Regions from separate parts of the Homo sapiens genome. Here regions 2 and 3 are each linked to region 1. Evidence: promoter capture Hi-C in human tissues and cell types (Jung and others, 2019). All regions are on one chromosome and are shown on one strand. Each heading gives the region's core, a stretch centred on a gene start or on the middle of the fragment in contact. The rest is flanking DNA. Distances are from core to core; before and after follow the strand shown. Region 1 holds the start of KCNA10 (potassium voltage-gated channel subfamily A member 10). Region 2 has its middle 20 kb from the start of KCNA2. Region 3 has its middle 31 kb from the start of KCNA2.

Region 1 (2,700 bases), core at 183-2,682:
TGAAGCTACATTTCTCCAGGGCTTTACCATGTACAGAGCCAGGATTTGAACTCGGGTGGACTGATTCTATTCTCAGATTCCATCCTGCCTCCCAGCCATCCTACTGCTCACCGAGCCTTGCAGAGCAGGCTGGCACCTGGCATGCTTGGCAGTGGGTACATCCTTCCTCATTCCACAACTGAGGAAGCAGCAGCTCCGTGAAATTAGGCCGTTTGCAATGGCCACATACTCCTGAGAGGTAGAATGGGTACTCTACCAGTGCTGACCAACCAGACTTGAGCTCATCATTCAACACATGGCACCTGAACTGAGAAAAGGGGTCATGGGATGGAAAGAGCTCTGGACCCCTGACAATTCTGTGGCCCTAGCCTACAGCTCCCCACAAGGCTCAGCTCCTATATAGGGACTCCATGGTCTAGTGGGAAAGGCCCTGGGCCAGAAGGCCATGGCCAGGTTTAGGTCAGGACTCTGTAGCACTAGTTATGTGACCTTAGGAAGTCACTTTGTCCCTGTGACTTGGTTTCCGCATCTGCAAAACAGAGATAACATCTAACCTCACGTGATTATTGTCATCTAGTGAGATAAGTGAATGTGGAATCACTTTGAAAAGACTACAACACTACACTGCAGGATAGCCTTGTCGCCTGTAAAGGAAACCTCTCCAAGGCTGTGACCACTACAGATTTTGCCTGAGGTTAAGTCCCTTACTTCTCTCCCACTCCCACCCCCAGCCTGCCTGGGTTCAGTGTTCTTAAATTGAAACTGAAGCTAGAATGAACCTGAGGAAAGAAATATTAGTCTATGTGTATAGATGTCCAAGCCCACTGGGCATGATTTCCTAACCCCACCTCCAGCGTGCGCGCGCACACACACACACACACACACACATATACACACACACACACAGACACACACAATTATTTACTTCCTTCCCACCTAAAATGATTTCTCAAAATGAAATTACTTCCTATGGACACCTTGGACTCAGGCCAAAAAAAATTCCAATTGCTGGTAGTTTCTAAAGTGCTTGTTATGTGGGAAAGTTGACAAAAAACAATAGCTATAATATAGTGATCTTTCTTTCCACCAAGCATTCCATACGTGTTATCTCATTTGAGGTACCTTCAAAACAACTCTAGGAGTTATTTCCAGGTGAGGGGTCATTTAGAGGACATTGTCGATTGGCCAACCCAGCGTCTTGTTTTTCCTTCCCTAAAGAATCCCCATTGGGTTCATAGATCTGGTTCCACCCTTCACCACTTGGTCCAGAAGCAGGGGTGGAAGTGATGCAAAATGGTTGAATTCTAGATATATTTTGAAGACATGACCAAAAGGATGTGTGAGGGACTGGCTGTTGGTGTGAAAGAGAGGCATTACGAATGAGATTGGGCATGGAGACGTGTTTGGTGAGACAGAAGGCTTCATGCAAATACAAGATCATGCTTTTTATTATTAAGGAATGTTAACTTCCTCTTTTAGTATGGCCCCTCTGCCATCACATATGGAGACCATCCTTTGCTGGGGAGAATCTCCCCTTCTTTGCCAGGATCCTTTTTTTGCAATTTCTCCTAGTTATTAGTTTATGCAAACTCAGGGGTACAAAATGATTTTAAGGGAAGCATGCTGCCAAAATAACCATGACGTTCCTTCCCAAGCTACAAATAAGTCATTGATTAGCCCATTGGTGTACCTTACCTCAATAAACAAGGGCCAGTTGTATTCTGCCCTGGATCTTGTATAATGAACTTCTTCTTCTCCATAGCTCACAGCAGGCAGTGAAGGCTGAGGATCTTCATGCTTCTTCCCTGGCTCCCCTAGAATGGATGTGTGTGGCTGGAAAGAAATGGAGGTTGCGCTGGTCAATTTTGATAATTCAGATGAAATCCAAGAAGAGCCAGGCTATGCCACAGACTTCGACTCAACCAGCCCAAAAGGCCGGCCTGGGGGCAGCTCCTTCTCCAACGGGAAGATCCTCATCAGCGAAAGCACCAACCATGAGACGGCCTTCTCCAAGCTTCCGGGAGACTATGCTGACCCCCCAGGGCCTGAGCCAGTGGTCCTAAATGAAGGAAACCAGCGGGTGATCATCAACATTGCTGGGCTGAGATTTGAGACCCAGCTCAGAACCCTTAGTCAGTTCCCAGAGACTCTCCTGGGAGACCGGGAAAAAAGGATGCAGTTCTTTGACTCCATGAGAAATGAGTATTTCTTTGATCGGAACCGGCCCAGTTTTGATGGAATCCTATATTATTACCAATCTGGTGGGAAAATTCGGCGCCCAGCCAATGTTCCCATTGATATCTTTGCTGATGAAATCTCCTTCTATGAGCTGGGTAGTGAGGCCATGGACCAGTTCCGGGAGGATGAAGGCTTCATCAAAGACCCTGAAACACTGCTACCCACCAATGACATCCACCGTCAGTTCTGGCTCCTCTTTGAGTACCCTGAAAGTTCCAGCGCTGCCCGTGCTGTGGCCGTGGTCTCGGTGTTGGTTGTGGTCATCTCCATCACCATCTTCTGCCTGGAGACACTGCCAGAGTTCCGGGAGGATAGGGAGCTAAAGGTGGTCAGAGACCCCAATCTCAACATGAGCAAGACAGTCCTCTCCCAGACCATGTTCACCGACCCTTTCTTCATGGTGGAGTCTACCTGCATCGTGTGGTTCACCTTCGAGCTGGTGCTCCGGTTCGTGGTCTGCCC
Region 2 (2,700 bases), core at 28-2,527, 68 kb before region 1:
TCTCTGGGAGCCACACTACTGGCTTCTGTCATCTTCCAGCTTGCAGAAAACCTATCTTGGGACTTCACCTTAGCAACTATGTGAGCCAATTCCCCCTAATAAATTCCCTTTCATATTTATCCCAGTGTTCCACCCCTCTGGAGAGCCCTGACTAATACACTGTCAAAGCCTTTGGCGTGAAACCAGAGCCACCATCCTGGTGGGGTCAACACTCAGCTGAGCCTTACAGGGACACTTCAGCAAAAATCGCCAAGGACTCTGACTCTGTTTCCCCAACCTCTTACCCCTGAAACTCCAGGAAAATATAGGAACAAGGCATTCTGGGGAAGATAAGGAAGTCTAGGGATTATGAGGTACAATGGAATGGGATCACCCTCCTCGGGTATTTTTGTCAATGGGATTCATGAGGCTGCAAGGTGTGAATGAGCAATTGCTATATTAAACGTTCCTGAAAAAGCTGTCTTCCTTTGGGCGTCAGCTCCTGACAGACAGAGAAAGCCTAGCGGGGGGTCTGAACTTCTTCCCCAGCCTCCTTCTTCATTCCTCCCCATCAGAAAGGAAAGGTGTAGAAAAAAATTAATTGGGAGAGGGGAGGAAATGAACCCTGAACCAATAGTAGCCCATAAATAGGCAGGAGCCTTTAATAAATGATTGCAAAATAAATGAGTAATTCTAGGAATGAATAATAAAAGAAAACGCTTATATATGGCACATACTCTATGCCAGGCCCTGTTCTAAATAAGTTTATCAATCCTTACAACCATCCTATGTCTAAGGCCCTAATTAGCCCCACATTATACTCAGGAGAACAGAGGCACAGAGAAGCTTACCTGACTTGCGAGGAAGTTGTACATAACTTCCAAAGGCAGGATTTGAACCCAGGTTATCTGGCCGCAAAGCCCGTGCTACTAACTCTCCCTCTTATTCATGACCCAGACTCCAAAGCAGTTTCTTATCCACTGACCTTCACAGTAAATCTGTGTGGCAGCCGTCGGGTCAGGCATTACAACACTCAGTTTATAGACAAGAAAACCAAGGTGCTGAGAGGATGGAAACTTGCCAAGGACACATAGCTGGAAGTGAAGAAAAGAACTCGGGTCTCTTGTCACCTGGTCCATGCTTCCTTATGTGACAGTTGCCTCCCAAGAATAAGGCAAGGGGTGAGGAAGTTGGGAGCAATAGAATCCTGGCTAGTCCAGTCTGGAAAGGGTCTTGGAGATCAACTAGACCAATTGCCTTATTTTGTAGGTGAGAAGATTGAGGTCCAGAGGAGGCCAGCGGCTTGCTTAAGGCCACAAGTGAATTGGCAACTAAAATGCCAGTCTGCCGACTGCCAATCAAGCCAACTGCACCATGCTCTTCTTCCAAAGAAGTCAAGGGTCACAGCATTTGGCAAGGGAGAGATGCACTAAGTCAGGCACCATGAATTAAGCTCCTATTATGTTCCAGCACCTCATGCAAATGCATAGAATGCAAAGAATTGTATCCCCTTCCTTGCTATTGGGGAATATATATCTGTAAACAAAACAGTCAGAGCTCCTGCTTTCATGGACTTGACTTTCTGGTGGGGGATAAGTGAGAAAGAAAATACTATTAATAAAATCAAAGCAAGATTGGGAGATGAAGAGTGACAGTAGGCGGTGCACTTTTATGCAGGGTGGGCAGGGAAGGTCTCTTGGATAAGGTGACATCTAAGCAGAGACCTTTAGGAAGTCAGAGAGTTGGCCATACAGATTCATGTGAGAAGATCATTCCATGCTCAGGGAGTGCAAGGGCACAGTCAGTGAGGCGAGGTGGAAGAGGGCATGCATTGAGGCCAGTGCTGCAGGAGCAGAAGAAGCAAGGGGGAAGACAATGGGAAATTAAAGAGTAAGGTTGGGAAGGGGACTTGCAGATTGTATAGGACCTTGTAGGACTCTGGACTCTGCTCTGGGTAAGGTGGGAAGCCATAGGAGGCTTTTCAGCATAGGAGAAACTTAACTGGACATATTGTTTTCAGATCACCTCAGCTGCTGTTTTGAACAGACTCTAGGGGGCAAGGATAGAGTCTGGGGCCCAGTGAGAAGGAGACTGCAATCATTCAAGCAAGGAGCACGGAGGCTGGGATGGTTGCAGCAGAGAAGTTGGGGAGAAGCAGTTGGACTTTGGATACACACTAAAGGCAGAAGCAATGGGATTTGCTGGTGAACTGAGTATGCAATGTAAGAAAGACAAAGGCATCCAGCATGACTCCAAGTTTTAGGTCTGAGCCCCACCCAAGCATAAACCCTCTGCCCTCAGCAACAAATTCTGGCCCGTCCTGGGAGCCAAGGGCAAGGGCCCAAGTAGGCAGGCCTGGCCCTGACTTAATTACAAGATCAATCCAACCAGCTGCCCTGCCAGAAGGAGTGCCCCTGGGCCTCAGCTTGGCCAGCCCCTGGGGTGTAGCTCCTGGGCTTGTCAGAGGGAGTTGGCCTCACACCATGCCCTGGGTCCCATCCAGCAGGCCTGGCTGGCCCTGTCACTGGCTACCTGGAGCCCAAGAAAAGTCCAAAAGTCCAGTCCAGACTAGGCCTAGGCTATAAGATTTGGGGCACTGAGCCTACTGGGACTTGAATATCTAGGGCTCCTGGGAAGGATGAAGAACTGTGAATAGCTGACCTGACTCTTGAGGAGCTGACCGAGCTGCTGGGCTGGGGTGGGGGAACACTGAGTGCTGAT
Region 3 (2,700 bases), core at 95-2,594, 120 kb before region 1:
ATGTGTATCTGATTGTGAGTGTATGTGCAGTGGAATTAGGGGAGAGCCACCTGTCTTTGCACTCTGCTCTTTAGCTGGTGTTGTTGTGTTTGACGTTATTTCCCCAACACAAGCTTCCTGGAAGAAGACGGTATCTTCCATGATTTTACTCTCCCACTGGAGTCTGATCTAGCGCTTGTCATCTAGCAAGCGACCCACAAGTTTAAGGCTGAATCACATTTTCACATATAAAGTCAGTGCCCAAGCCATGTCTCTCATTTGAAGCTTCTGTTGTCTGCCCCCACTTCTCCCAGCCTCCTGACACACACCCACTCTCTCACAGAGCAGGTGCACTTCAGCAGAATGTAAGCAAATCAGTGCTGAATGTCAAAACGGATTTTACTCAATTATTAAATTGCGAGAACCAGGAGAAGAGCAAATAAATATCCCAACAAAGTTATGCTATGAAATATGTGAAACCCACCCAGATCTAATATTTAATTTAGACTCAACTGTCTCAACAGCTTTCTACCATCCCAGATTCCAGCCAAAGGCCATCAGACATGGCTTGGGGTGAAAACTCGGTAGCTATACAGGCCTAATGCAAAGACCAAGGCTGAATGATGGGCCACCCCTCAGGGACAGGTGCCCACAGGCCAGAGGCTGAAAAGCTTCTCCAAAGATGCCAATTAGCTCAAGCACAAGAACCAAAGCCTGAGCTCTGACATCTGCATAAGTCAGGCTGCTGGGAGCTTTGCCTAATGATTCTGCAAGAAGAGGGGCTCTGAACCAGCATCTGCCTCCTGCTGCCCAGCTTCCTCAGCCAGCCAGAAGGGAGATACAAGCACCACCTAGTGCTGAGGTAAGGGGACCGGTCATTGACAGCTGCTCACTGGCTGTGATGATATTTTAAGTATCAAGGCTACAGTGAATGCCGAAGAGGAGAGGGGAGGGAGAATAGAGGAGTGGAGAAGCAGCAGGGGAAATAGATTCAGAGCATGAATTCCCAGCTCATTCAACTCACCCCACTGCACCCACCAGTCCTCAGCACTGGTGTCATAGCACCATCCTCAGAGGCCAGGAGGCTGGCTTCCTGCAGCCTCCAGGCCTGGTGAGCCCTCCCTCTCCCCCAAGCTTTTTCCCAGCCTGTCTGGCAGACATGCGGCATGTACTGCTGTGCTCACGGCCAGTAGACCCCTGCTTCCCCTCCTGTAGTGGCTCTCTGAGAATAAGGATGTGTCTGCCCTTGGCTCAGCATCTCAAGCACATAAAGCAGATTCTGCTTCCAGAACCAGAAAATACATGACAGTTCAAGACACAGAACTGACTCTCTCAGTCACTCCATGCCGCTCCAGCAGAGGGCTTCTCAGGGGCCAATGGAAACCAGCCACCAAAGGCTGTCTCATCAGGCTGAGTCCAGACCACCCGAAGGGAACCCATACCACCCAGGCCCCACCCAGGGGCAGACCCAGGACCCAGGCAGGTCCTGAAGTGCTGGACCACTCTGTCACAGAGCCAAAGTATGGGTATGGGTTTAGCTGTCTCCCATGGCTGCTCAGCCTGCAGAGCCTACTGAAGGGCCTATCCAGCTACCAAGGGAGGACATGCTGCCAGTGAGCTCCAAGGAGCCCTGCAGCAGAGCAGGAAGGGGCAGGGGAATGCTCCCACCCACCATCAGCTAGGGCTGGAACTCCAACTCACTCTGAGCACACTGCAGCCTCCCAAGTGGATGTAGGTTACTCTGGATGTAGGTTACTCCAGGTGACACATTCTTTTCTACAAAATTTCTTTCCAGATCAAATCTAATTTTATTTTATTTTTATTTTATTTTACTTATTTTTGAGACACAAAATATTTTACTTATTTTTGAGACAGTGTGTTGCCCACACTGGAGTGCAGAAGTGCCATCACGGTTCACTGCAGTCTCGACCTCCCTGGGCTCAGGTAATCCTCCCACCTCAGCCTCCCAAGAAGCTGGGAATACAGGCATGGACCACCATGCCTGGCTAATTTGGGGTTTTTTTGGTTGTTGTTTTTTTGGGGTTTTTTTTTGTTTGTTTGTTTGTTTTTTTGTGGAGACAGGGTTTTGCCATGTTGCACAAGCTGGTCTCAAACTCCTGGGCTCAAGCAATCTGCCTGCCTTGGTCTCCCAAAGCACTGGGATTACAGACATGAGCTACCACACCTGGCCTCAAATTTGATTTTAATGAGCATCAAGAGAAGCTCTACACCAACACCTTTGACTTGGTCATTGGGAAGGGCCCAAGGAGTACTGCTGCATGGCCCACTTATTTCAGAGTTCTTGGTGGCTGTCCCTCCTCTGTAGTCCTGGCTACCACCAGGTCATGCAGCCCCTCTGCAGGCCCAGCATTGGTGATAGAGCTCCCAAGGCTACCTCCTCCACTGTTGGACAGCATTTCACCAGCTAAGAGTTGGTGAGCGCTCATGGTGTGCTTCCCTCCTTGCCAGCCATTTTCCAGGAGTTCTTTAACTCATGGTAAGTATTATTATTATTCTCATATTCAGATAAGGAAACTGTGGCTTAGAGAAATTGACTCCTTTCTTTAAGGTCACAATAACTTAAAATTGGCAAAGCCAGGTTACAAACCCTGGGTTCTTAACTAGAAAAGGGTTGCAAACTACAATACCTGCAGACACCTGGGAATCAGCGAAACTGTGCAAATGTAAGAAAGGTGGAGGAAGTAGCACTTGTGAAAAACC

What was found. The method cuts DNA at HindIII sites, captures the fragments that hold promoters and counts their contacts. A contact is called where the count stands out against the background at its distance.
Region 2: a contact is called between a fragment that was not itself captured here and the fragment with the promoter of KCNA10 in region 1, in 4 of the 25 tissues and cell types used here (IMR-90 fibroblasts, dorsolateral prefrontal cortex, spleen and 1 more).
Region 3: a contact is called between a fragment that was not itself captured here and the fragment with the promoter of KCNA10 in region 1, in 2 of the 25 tissues and cell types used here (dorsolateral prefrontal cortex and thymus).

What each region holds. Positions count from the first base shown.
Region 1 is chr1:110,517,907-110,520,606 of GRCh38, reverse strand. KCNA10 (potassium voltage-gated channel subfamily A member 10) reads left to right here and starts at 1,432. Exons shown (of 1, transcript NM_005549.2): 1 at 1,432-2,700. The coding sequence starts at 1,820. The HindIII fragment of the contact is 7,025 bases long and covers 1-2,700 here.
Region 2 is chr1:110,585,322-110,588,021 of GRCh38, reverse strand. No RefSeq gene overlaps it. Among named protein-coding and RNA genes, the nearest start is that of KCNA2, 20 kb to the left of the region's middle. The HindIII fragment of the contact is 7,567 bases long and covers 1-2,700 here.
Region 3 is chr1:110,636,336-110,639,035 of GRCh38, reverse strand. No RefSeq gene overlaps it. Among named protein-coding and RNA genes, the nearest start is that of KCNA2, 31 kb to the right of the region's middle. The HindIII fragment of the contact is 3,377 bases long and covers 1-2,700 here.